Linked DNA regions of Homo sapiens: region 1 is linked to region 2. Evidence: promoter capture Hi-C in human tissues and cell types (Jung and others, 2019). All regions are on one chromosome and are shown on one strand. Each heading gives the region's core, a stretch centred on a gene start or on the middle of the fragment in contact. The rest is flanking DNA. Distances are from core to core; before and after follow the strand shown. Region 1 overlaps NME7 (NME/NM23 family member 7). Region 2 holds the start of DPT (dermatopontin).

Evidence for each region. Contacts are between HindIII fragments. The study calls those that stand out against the background at their distance.
Region 1: a fragment that was not itself captured here is called in contact with the fragment with the promoter of DPT in region 2 in 1 of the 25 tissues and cell types used here (thymus).

Annotation. Positions count from the first base shown.
Region 1 is chr1:169,242,621-169,248,875 of GRCh38, reverse strand. All of the region lies in intron 7 of NME7 (NME/NM23 family member 7), which reads left to right. Among named protein-coding and RNA genes, the nearest start is that of NME7, 120 kb to the left of the region's middle. The HindIII fragment of the contact is 7,360 bases long and covers 1-6,255 here.
Region 2 is chr1:168,725,112-168,731,421 of GRCh38, reverse strand. DPT (dermatopontin) reads left to right here and starts at 2,216. Exons shown (of 4, transcript NM_001937.5): 1 at 2,216-2,552. The coding sequence starts at 2,248. The HindIII fragment of the contact is 7,078 bases long and covers 1-4,879 here.

The sequences.
Region 1 (6,255 bases), core at 1,382-3,881, 520 kb before region 2:
TGTAGTTACAAAAATAGTGCTGGTATAAAAGTAGGCACATAGAGCAGTGGAACAGAATAGAGAACCCAGAAATAAAGCCAAATACTTACAACCAACTGATCTTCAACAAAGCATAGAGAAACACAGGCTGAGGAAAGGACACCTTATTTAATAAATAATGCTGGGAAAACTGGATAACCACATGTAGAAGAATGAAACTGGATGCTTATCCCTTACCTTATACAAAAATCATCTCAAGATGGTTCAAAGATGTAAATCTAAGACATGAAACTATAAAAATTATAGAAGATAACCTAGGAAAAACTATTCTGGACATTGGCTTAGGCAAATAATTCGTGAGTAGGACCCCAAAAGCAAATGCAACTAAAATAAAAATAAATAAATAGGACCTAATTAAATAAAAGAAACTTCAGTACATTAAAAGAAATAACTATCAGAATAAATAGACAACCCACAGAGTGGGAGAAAATATCTGCAAACTATACATCTAGCAAAGGACTAATATCTAGAATCTACAATGAACTCAAGTACATCAACAAGAAAAAAAAATCCCATCAAAATGTGGGCAAATAACATGAATAGACATTTCTCAAAAGAGGATATAAGAATGGTAAAGAACATATGAAAAATGCTAAACATCACTGATCATCAGGAATATGCAAATTAAAAATACAATGAGATACTGCCTTACTCCTGCAAAAATAGCCATTATTAAAAAGTCAAAAAATAATAGATGTTGGCATAGATGTGGTGAAAAGGGAACACCTATACACTGCTGGTAGGAATGTAAATTAGTACAAACTGTATAAAAAACAATATGGAGATTTCTTAAAGAACTAAAAGTAGATCTGTCATTTGATTCAGCAATCCCACTACTCAGTATCTACCCAAAGGAAAATAAGTGATTATATTAAAGACACTTGCACGCATATGTTTATTGCAACACAATTCACAGTTGCAAACGTATGGAACCAATCTAAGTGTCCATTAACGAATGAGTGGATAAAGAAAATGTGATATATATACACCATGGAATACTACTCAGCCATAAAAATAATGAAATAATGTGTTTTGCAGTAACTTGGATGGAGCTAGAAGCCATTATTCTAAGTGAAGTACTCAGGAATGGAAAAACCAAAAACCGTATGTTCTCACTTATAAGTGGGAACCAAGATACGGGTATGCAAAGGCATACAGAATTCTATGATGGACTTTGGCGACTCAGAAGAGGGAGGGTTGAGGGGGGTGAGGGATTAAAAAACTACTTATTGGGTACAATGTACACTACTTGGATGATGGGTGCACTAAAATCTCAGACTTCACCACTATATAATTCATCCGTGTGACCAAAACCACTTGTACCCCAAAAACTATTGAAATAAAAAAATTTTAAAAACTGAGATTTTCATATAATGAGAATAGCCCCTGCATAATAACATTCATGAAAATCTCCTAGAAACATGGATTTGGCTTCTAATGGGACATTTGCTTACTCCAACCACATAGAGACTGGCCTCTTAAGATTAGGAAGCAGCTCACTCTATCCATAGCTGGCAGTACCCTGTGCTGTAGAAACTTAATTTTACTTTGTGATTGTGTGGTTAACTTTTCTGTATTAACCTGACTTTGACTTTAGACTTCATATGACCTATTTACCCAATCTTACACAGTTTTCAGTTTCCAGCCTATCTACTCAGTACCGTACTTTATTTTGTTTTTCTTAGACTGTCCTTGTTTTAAAACTGTGATCTTATTTCAACCAAGGTATAGCTGTTCTTAGCTTCCTTTGCATGCTGAGCCTGTCTTTCTTCACAGTGAGGAGGAACCCCTGACTACTCTTTCCTGGAAATCTTCATTCCCATAGGTCTTCTCTGCTGTCCCTATGATGGTATGGAGCCTGTTTTTATTATTTTCTACTCACTTAATTGCATCTTGATGAATTTCAGTACACAAAGTCACCATATTGTAGGTATATCTACAAAGGTGTTGTTATACTGGACCAGATGCAGTGGCTTATGCCTGTAATCCCAGCACTTTGGGAGGCTCAGGTGGGAAGATCACTTCAGGCCAGGAGTTTGATACCAGTCTGGGCAACAGTGAGACCCTGTCTCTACAAATAATTTTTAATAATTAGCTGGGCATGGTGGCACATGCCTGTAGTCCTAGCTGCTTGGGAGGCTGAGGTAGTTGAATCACTTAAGCCCAGGAGTTCAAGTCCAGCTTGAGTAACATAGCAAGGCCCCACCTCTAAAAAAAAATACAAATAAAATAAAGTTCTATTGGTTACTCTTTTTACTACCTTGTAAGGAATGTACAGCTTGTTCTTGTTAGGAAATTGGTAAGGAAAAATGTGAATTTCAGATTTGGGTATGTGGTGTTAGTGGAGGATCAGAAATCTATTGGATGAATTAAATCTGTCTTTTAAAAGCTACTTTCTACTAATGTGGGTTTTATGATCACCTGATGGATTAATTTGAGATCCATTAAGACCTAAGTGCCTTACTGGTTCCCAATTTAACAATTCTGTGGAATCCAAACTCTTATTTATTTTGATTTGTTTTTACTTTTTTGAGACACGGTCTCGCTCTGTCACCCAGGCTGGATTGCAGTTGTGCCATCTCAGCTCACTGCAACCTTGGCCTCCTGAGCCCTAGTGATCCTCCCACCTTAGCCTCCTGAGTATCTGGGACTACAGGCACACACCATCATACCTGGCTAATTTTTTTTTTCATATTTTTTGTAGACATGAAGTTTTACCATGTTGCCCAGGATGGTCTGGAATCCAGACTCTTGTCTGCAATTGATTTAATATAATTCTACAATATTTTTCCTTATTGCAAGGCAGAAAACCATAGACATTTGTAGCTTAAACCAATCTGAGTGCTTCCATTAAAAATTACAGGAAGATTATCAGTGAAGTGGTATTGCCTAGTAACATATTGCTCTCTAGGAGACAGAAAGCTTTTCCACCTGGTTTTTATGCCTAAGGTTATTTGTTATGCATGTTTGCCAAGATTAGTATTAAATTCCTTCTGTTGACTTTAGTAACACTTGTGATTTCTTTTATATGTTAGCATTGAACATTAAACTCTCATAATCTCTAGTTTTTTGATTTGTCTTTACACTAATCATGTTTTAAAGATACACGTCTATTTTTTAGTTAAAATGGCTTTGAATTTTATTTCACTAGATTTAAATTTTAAAGGAAATCATATCCTTCCAATTTGATTTAAATTGGTTATGGTTATTAATATTAAACATGTCTATTTTAGGCACCAGTTTTATTAGTTCGTGTACTCTTGGCTACATCACGATTAAAACTTTTCTTTCAGTTTCTTTCCAAAATAAACTGCAAGATTTCCTTGTTGACATTTTTTCATTTTTAAAAATCGTTTCGTTTTATTTCCCACCACCCCTGTTTATTATATGGATTGTGAAGCAAAGCATACAGGTGATAGTGAATTATCTTGTACAACAGCCTGGTCGCTTCTTTAAATTTCAGTTTTGTAAGTTGTTTTGCTCACCAAAGTGTCCTTTTCATGGGCTCTCATGCTCGTGAGTAGGGTTTTGTTGTCATCTGTATCTTGCTGTTACATCCAGTAAGTTTAACATTCATGGTAACGATATTTTTCAAGTGTTTCTACAGTGTAAGGGGCTCATTGGCTGCAAGATTGCTGTGAGGTATATTATAGATGATAGATACTATGATTTTCTGTTTATTTGTTTTATTTTTGTTGTTGTTGTTCTGAGACAGAATCTTGTTCTGTCACCCAGGCTGGAGGACAGTGGCATAATCTTGGCTCACTGTAAGCTCTGCCTCCTGGGTTCAAGCGATTCTTGTGCCTCAGCCTCCCAGGTAGCTGGGATTACAGGCATGTGGCACTATGTCTGGCTAATTTTTGTATTTTTAGTAGAGATAGGGTTTCTCCATGTTGGCCAGGCTGGGCTTGAACTCAGGACCTCAAGTGATCCACCCACCTTGTCCTCCCAAAGTGCTAGGATTACAGGCATGAGCCACCGCACCCAGGTGGTAGATATTGTGATATCAAGGGAAAATATTGATGCCAGGAAAGACCTTAACATCAGAATAAGTTATTTTCACAAGAAATATTTTTGATATAGATACATGTGGCAAAATAAAACTATTAGATTATTAACTATGAAAACCAATTTTGTTAGAATTTTGAAGAATACTATGCATCTACTTTTTAACAACTTAATTTTTTTTTTTTTTTTTTTTGAGATGGAGTCTCAGTCTGTGGTCCAGGCTGGAGTGCAGTGGTGCAATCTCGGCTCACTGAAAGCTCCGCCTCCCAGGTTCACGCCATCCTCCTTCCTCAGCCTCCCGAGTAGCTGGGACTACTGGCACCCACCACCATGCCCAGCTAATTTTTTGTATTTTGTTTAGTAGAGATGAGGTTTCACCGTGTTAGCCAGGATGGTCTCGATCTCCTGATCTCATCATCCTCCCACCTTTGGCCTCCCAAAGTGCTGGGATTACAGGCGTGAGCCACCGCACCTGGCCAACAACTTAATTTTTAATGATGTTCTCTCTATTAAGCAGTTTTCTAGAACTATTAATAAACAATAAAGTGATCTTTTTTTCCTCCTTTTTCTGCCAAATTGATAAGAATCAGAATGGTAAGAAGGAAAGAAATCTTAAAGTCTGAATAATCAGTAAGTTAAGTGATGATCCTCTGAACAATTCAGAATTTACTACATATACATTCTATAACCATCTCTGTTAAAGATTTTATAGTATATATTCAGAAGATCAAACAGATGTTTCATAGCTGTATATACACATATATACACATATGTATATTTTTGCATATACATAAATTATTTAATTGAGGTACATACATATGCCAACTAAATATTTTGATTATTTATTTTATTATAATATAATCTTAGGCTCTGGGGCAAGCAAAACTGGGTTTGAAATTCAGTTCTATCACTTACTAGTTATTAAGGCATATTGTTTAATCCTTGAATATAGATACTCAACATCTATAAAATGAAGATTATACTAGTACTTTCCTCATAGGCATTATCTTAGTTCATTTGAGCTGCTACAATATAAATACCATAGACTGGATGTCTTAAACAACAAACATGTATTTCCCACAGTTCTCCATAGTGGGAAGTCCAAGATCAGGTCCTGCAGGTTCAGTTTCAGGTCAGGGCCCATGGTTTTCTTCATAGATGACACCTTCTCACTGTGCCTTTACATGGTGAAAGAGGCAAGAGAACTCTCTGGAGCTTCTTTTATAAGGGCACTAATGCCATTCACATGGGCTTTGTTCTTGCTATCTAATCACCTCTTCCCCACAAAGGCCCTACCTTTATCACATTGGGAGTTAGGATCTTAATTTCAGAGGGTCACAAATATTCAGTCCATAGCAGCGTTGTGAGGATTATGTGTAATAATATGTGACTAGCTTACACCATGTATAGATGAGAAAAAACTAGCTGTTTCCCCAAATTTGTGTTATCCTTTCATTGTGTAGACTTCCTTCTGGGAAGTAACTCTTTTTTCTTGGAGACTTTATTTCCTAACTTTACTGAGTTTGTTGAAAAGTTATCTCTCTAATTTGAATTGCTTTTGCACTTTTGTAAAAAATCAGTTGGACATATTTGTGTGGTTCTATTTTGGGATTTTTTTGTTCTGTTCCATTGATCTCTATCACTGACAATACTACACCATCTTTCGGTTATTGCAGTTAATAATGAACCATGAAATTGAGTAGACTGATTACCTCACATTTTTCTTTTTTGAAATTGTTTTAGTTATTCTAGTTCCTTTATCTTACCATATAATTTTAGAATAATCTTATCTATTGCTACAAAAAAAACTTGCTGGTATTTTGATAACAATTTTGTTAAACTTATTTGTCAATTTAGGGAGAATTGACATCTTTATTGTGTGAAGTATTCCCTGAACACTGTATGCTCTTCATTTATTTAGCTCTTTCATCCAGCATTTTGTAGTTTTCATACACAAGTTCTATACATTTTTGGTTAGATTCACACCCAATTTTATTTTCTTTTTGAGTGATTATAAATGCTATTATAGTTTTAGTTTCAGTGTTCAAGTATTTATTGCCAGTGTGTAGAAATACAACTGATCTAGTATGTTTACCTTGTATCTTTCAACCTTGCTGAAATAATTAGTTCTAGATTTTTTTTTAGGCTATTTGGGATTTTCTATATAGACAGTCATGTCATATACAAATAGAGACAGTTATATTTCTG
Region 2 (6,310 bases), core at 967-3,466:
GGTGGGATTAATAGTGTGATTTTTCTCTGGCTCCACATTCCTTTAGGAAGGTGACTCTTAGCAATTGATGTGAATAAGAATCACCTGGAAAATTTTTTAAAATATAAATACCTGAGCACCCCTTGTGAGGTTATGATTTAGCAGGCCTGGAGAAGAGCCACTGTCTACATTTTAACAAACTTCACAGAGGCTGTAGATAGAATTGGTCTATGATCACAATTCTAAGAAACTTTAAGAACAATACTGATGAGAAATGGGAAATACTATGTGCTTAAGAGATGCCCAAAGGTTTCAAAAAATTTGAAAAGCCAAATCATCAACGGATGCATGGAATGGGTAATGAGCACATGAAAAGATGCTCAAAATCATGGATCATTAGAGAAATGAAAATCACAACCACACTGAAATATCACTACAAACCTATTTGAATAGCTAAAATTTTTTAATGGCAATTTTCTGGTAGTGGTGGGCAATGGTATCACCACTTTGGAAATCAGCTAGGTAGTTTCTTGCTTTCTTTTTTTTGTTTTTTTGAGACGGAGTCTCGCTCTGTAGCCCAGGCTGGAGTGCAGTGGCACAATCTCGGCTCACTGCAAGCTCCGCTTCTCGGGTTCACGCCATTCTCCTGTCTCAGCCTCCCGAGTAGCTGGGACTACAGGCGCCCGCCACTAAGCCTGGCTAATTTTTTGTATTTTTAGTAGAGGCGGGGTTTCACCATGTTAGCCAGGATGGTCTCGATCTCCTGACCTCGTGATCCGCCCGCCTCGGCCTCCTAAAGTGCTGGGATTACAAGCATGAGCCACCACACCCGGCCTCAGTAGTTTCTTTTAAAGTTAAACATACATTACCTTGTGAACCAGCAATCTCACTCCTAGGTATTGACCCAAATGAAATAAAAATTTGTTCACACAAAAACCTATACATAGATGTTTATATCAACTTTATAATTACATTTATGTAATTCATTATATAAAATATAATGAATATAAAATTCATTACATAAAAAGTAATGAATTTTCAAAAACTGGAAACAACCCAAATGTCTTTCAACTAGTAAATGTATAAACAATCTGTGGTACATCCATGCTATGGAATATTACTCAACAATAACAAGAAACAAAATACTAACACATACAATGAGATGTTGAATTTTAAAATGGATGAACCTTAAAAGCATTATGCTAAGTGAAAGATGGACATGAAAGGCTACGTGTGGTATGATTCCATTTACTTGACATTCTGGAAAAGGCAAAACCATAGAGACAGAAAGTAAATCAGTGGTTACCAATGGCTGGGTGTTTGGGAAGATTTGACTGCAAAGGGATATAAGGGGATGTTTTGGATTGATGGAACTGTTCTAAGTCTTGATTAGGGTGCTGGCTATGTTACTGTACATTATGTATTTTAAAAGGTGAATTAATTATATGTAAATTATAACTCAATGAAAAGAAAATTCAATGTGAGGGCAAAAATACTGAAGGATAAATAGGGGGTTTATTTAGATTAAACCCATTACATTTTGAGAGCAGAGCACACTTTCTAGACTTGACTGGGTCCAATTTCAGCAGCATGGTAGAATGCTTAAGTGTAGAAATCATATCCAACTTATCTCCCCATGGGCCCATAGTACTTCCTTATGCAACTTATGAGTTCTCAGAGTAGCCCTGCAAACTGGTATACCCGCGCTTATACTCAAGGGTTAAAAAGTGTTGGATTGACAACTTAAAAAAAAAAACAGGCATTCAGCCTTACAGAAATCCTAGATGGCTCTGTTACTTCAGTCTATGATTTCGGTATTTTGAAATCACTGTCTGGGTATTTGTGTGGCCCGGAAGGCTAGTTTGGAGAACAAATACAGGGGTTTGCTAGTAGCGGGTAGGGTAGGACAGAAAGGGGTGAGGTGCTGAAAGGTGAGGGACAAATATGCTACTAATCAGTGTTTTTCAAGTGAATATTTCTACAGGGTAGAGCAGCAGTTGGCTTTTATAATCTAGATACAAAGTTGTTCTTTCTCCAGGGAGCTTCTTAGACTTACATGCTGCTGGTATATTCCTAGAATTCCACCTTAAAACAAGCTGAATGTCCTTATGGCTGACATCTCAGCATGGAAAAGTTTTGCTTAAGCAATGACACACTGCAGTTGGATCCTTCTCACCCACATCTGGAAGCCACATGTCAGCGGCAGCTATATAAAACGGTCAGACCAGCAATCTTAGAGTGACATTGTTTGCCAAAATCCCAGGCAGCATGGACCTCAGTCTTCTCTGGGTACTTCTGCCCCTAGTCACCATGGCCTGGGGCCAGTATGGCGATTATGGATACCCATACCAGCAGTATCATGACTACAGCGATGATGGGTGGGTGAATTTGAACCGGCAAGGCTTCAGCTACCAGTGTCCCCAGGGGCAGGTGATAGTGGCCGTGAGGAGCATCTTCAGCAAGAAGGAAGGTTCTGACAGACAATGGAACTACGCCTGCATGCCCACGCCACAGAGCCTCGGGGAACCCACGGAGTGCTGGTGGGAGGAGATCAACAGGGCTGGCATGGAATGGTAAGGGCCAGTCCCTGCACTGCACTGGGGCTGGGAACATCTCTGCATATCCCTCCTCCTGGGGGCTGCTAGACTCTCAAGGAATATCAGTAACCAAAGCCTGGGCAAATCCCACCCCAAACCTCACCACTGCATGCTCTGGGTGGAGCAGGGCTGCTGCTGAGCGGACTACATGACAGGACAAAAACCTGGGATGGGGAGTGTCTGTGGGAGACAGACTCCTCTGTGGCTCTGTTCCTTCCAGAAGCTGTTCTACCTACTCTCAGTTTGGGCCAGGGGCTGGTGTAGGTCGGCGAGAAGCTTGCTTACCAGACTACCAAAAGATATGTACAGAAACTGAAAGTAATAAACTTTATAGAAATTAAAACTTTCTGTGCCATCGGAATGGCATTTTTCTTTTTTAGAAATTTATTTTTACCATTTTACAAAAGTACTGGCCCACAGTAGTTTGGGAACAAGAAAAATAAACAATTGATCTCTCAGCACGGAGGGTTTGAGAACTATTGATTTAGAGCAAGTGAATGGAAAAGAGGGGACAAGGACATTTAGGCAAAAGAAAGTGGAATTAAATAGCTGTCTACTGCCTTGATTAAATGTGCTCTCTCAATTATGAGTACTGAGGTCCTTCTCTCTGCCTGAATTTAAAGTGGGTTTTATTGCTGGAAAATAGTTTACTAAAGGGTTTTGGAGAGAGGTGCTGTCTTCCCCTGACTGCATTCTGCCTTAAGCAGTGGCATGGAATTTTTTCGAGCTTGTACTTTTTTGTGGGGTGTGATTGTCTCAGCTGGGTCTCAGCCCAGGTGCTTGGTCAGGAGCTCATCCTAGTAGGCACTGACTGCTAGGCTGATTATTTACAACAGCCTAGATGGAGCCAGCACTCTAGGAGGCTTGGAGGAGAGAACGGAGGAGGCAGTCCAGGGAGGAGGAAGCCCACCTGGAGGGCTGCTGCATGTGCTATCTGTAGAGCAACCCAGATGTGTGGCAACAAGTACTTAGTGTAGTGGGGATTGGAGGGGTCAAGCACAAAATCTGGCCAGGTGTGGTGGCTCACGCCTGTAATCCCAAACACTTTGGGAGGCTGGGGAGGGAGGATCACTTGAGATCAAGAGTTCGAGACCAGCCTAGGGAACACAGCCAGACCCTATCTCTACAGAAAAAAAAAAATTAGCCCGGTGTAGTTGCATGCAGCCTGTGGTCCCAGCTACTCAGGAGGCTAAGGTAGGAGGATCACTTGAGCCCAGGGAGTCGAGGCTGCAGTGAGCCATGCTCGCACCACTGTATTCCCTCCTGGGTGGCAGAGCAAGACTCTGCCTCAAAAAAAAAAAAAAAAGAAAATAGAAAAAAGAAAAAGCATAGAACCCTGGGGGACACAACCAGTAGAGAGGTGATGATGGGAAATCCAAGAGGAAGAAACACCGATGGGTGGGGGAGCCAGGAAAGAGAGCGGGCCTTTAAGTAATGACAACAGCTACCATTTATTGAGTGCTTACCCTGAGCAGGCTCCATGCTAAGTGCTTTATGTGGATCATCTCGTGTAATGCTCAAAACAAGGGTATATCCCATTTATAGGTAGACAAACTGCAGTCTAGAGATCCAGTATTTCCTCGGCTAGAAAGCTGGGGTTTGGATCCACAGAGTCTTTGCTTCAAAGAGTTTGTACTTTGCCACAGTGACGGGCTCCTGAGAGGCTGCTGCCTCCACCCAGAGTGGGCTCCCACCCGACAGCTGACTCTGTCAGCAGAGCCAGTGCCACAGGACCAGATTCAGGGCAGTTCTTCCTCCTGGAGAGGGTGGGGACCTGCAAGACCACAGCAGAAGCCCAGCCCCAGAGGGATGATCCCTACTTGGTTACCAGGACTGTGGAGGGGCTCAGCCGGACTGTAGAAGGGGTGGGGAGAGGACTCACACAGGCAGCAGCAGGTGAGGGTGCCGGGGCTGTGGAGGCTGCTTGGACAGCCTTTGTGGGCCATTCTCATCCACCCCCATGGCCTCTGGTGAGCAGATTTAGTTATTCAAAACCCCTTCTGACAGATGCTGATTCAGAGACCAGGCTCACCTTGATTGTTGTCTCCATGACTCCTCACAGCCAGGCCCACTGCCTAATGTGGAGCATGGCAATGACCTAATTACAACTGTCCCTCCAGTCCTCACCTCTCAGGAGCACTATCGCATGGGTGCGACTCCTTTCTAACAGCCGTTTTTTGTGCCACAGTCAAGCAGCACTCAGCCATGGTTCCCCAAGCCATAGAGGAAGAGCCCTAGGCTCTGAATCAGGAGGCCTGGGTCTGGATCCTGGTTCTAATGACTTGTGGTGTGACCTTGGCCCAGACGCTCAGCCCTCCAGTCTCCCGCCTCATTTGGAAAGTGAGCAGTCAGGCTGCATGATCTCTGAAGGCTCCACAGAGCTGTGGCTCACCCCTGAAAACACTCTTGGCTTTTTCTTGCATTCTGTTGATCTTTGTGTTCATCCCTGCTAGAGAGAGAAGCCAAATGATGTTTAGTTTTAAACTTGCCAACTGTGACTGGTTTGTCATGAACTCCCAAACTATTTGAAGAAAAGCAAAAGAGGAAGAAGGTGAAATAACATGATTTTATTTGGCCCATGGGAGTCAAGGGAAAAGCTGATAGGCGAGATACCTCTTCCACCTCCTCTTACTCGGCATTTTTGGGTGTGCAGTGTCTAGTAATTTTGGTTTCCTTTCCTCCTTCCACCCTCTGTTGCCTCCTTCTCCCCGTCTACTAATCACAGGGTTGAAAACTCACAAACATGCAAAACAACTTCTTTACAATAAGATCCAGCTGCCCCAGGACTGACACGAATTACCCTGGAAGCACTTTTAAAAATGATTATGCCTTTGAGTTCAGCCTCCAGTCTCAGTGAAAAATCTGTAAGGAAAGAAATTGCTTATGGGCTGGGGAGCTATTACATCTGACGTTGGCTACAGGCTTAGTCTGTTCTCAGGGAACAGTTGTTGATGGTTTTGTGCAGTTGGGCTGCCTTGTATAACCAAATTAGCTTTCAGGTTTATTTTAAAAGAGGGGAGGAGTCTCGAATATAGGCTTGACAATAGCACATAGGATCTGCTAAAAAGAAAATCTTTCTAATCAAAGTGCCATCTTTAAAAGGTGTTGCCATCATAGCTGAGTGGTCTGTGGTGCTGCCATTGATCACAGTTTCTCTGTTGAAAATCACCTCTTCAAGTGCCGGCTTCTGAAGTTTGGATGATGGTCTCTGGCACTAACAACTACCAGGAGGCCTTACCTGGGTCCCCATGAGTGGTATTTCACCATCCCAGGGCATGCCTAGGTTGTTCTCAGGGAATCTGCTCTAACTTGGGTCAGCACAGGCTGTAGGGCACTGGGTCCTGTGTGGAATAAGATGAAGGTGAAATTTTCTAGTGAGATTGAGCTACTGTGTAGCGGAAGGAGCCCTGGGCTTGGATGCAGGAAACCTGGATTCACAGCTCCTGCTTGTATCTGTGACATTCGGTATCTCATTCTGGCAAAAAAGAAAGAGAAGAAAGAAAGAAAGAGAGAGAGAGAAGGAAGGGAGGGAGGGAGGAAGGAAGGATTGAAGGAAGGAAGGAAAGAAGGAAGGAAGAAAGGAAGGGAAAGAGAAAGGAAAGGAAAGGAAAGGAAAGGAAAGGAAAGGAATGGAAAGGAAAGAAAAGCAAAGGAAGAAAAAGGAAGGTGTGACTCCCACCTCACAAGCTGCTACTTGTGTTACTGTGATACTTGTAGGATAAAGTATAAGAAAA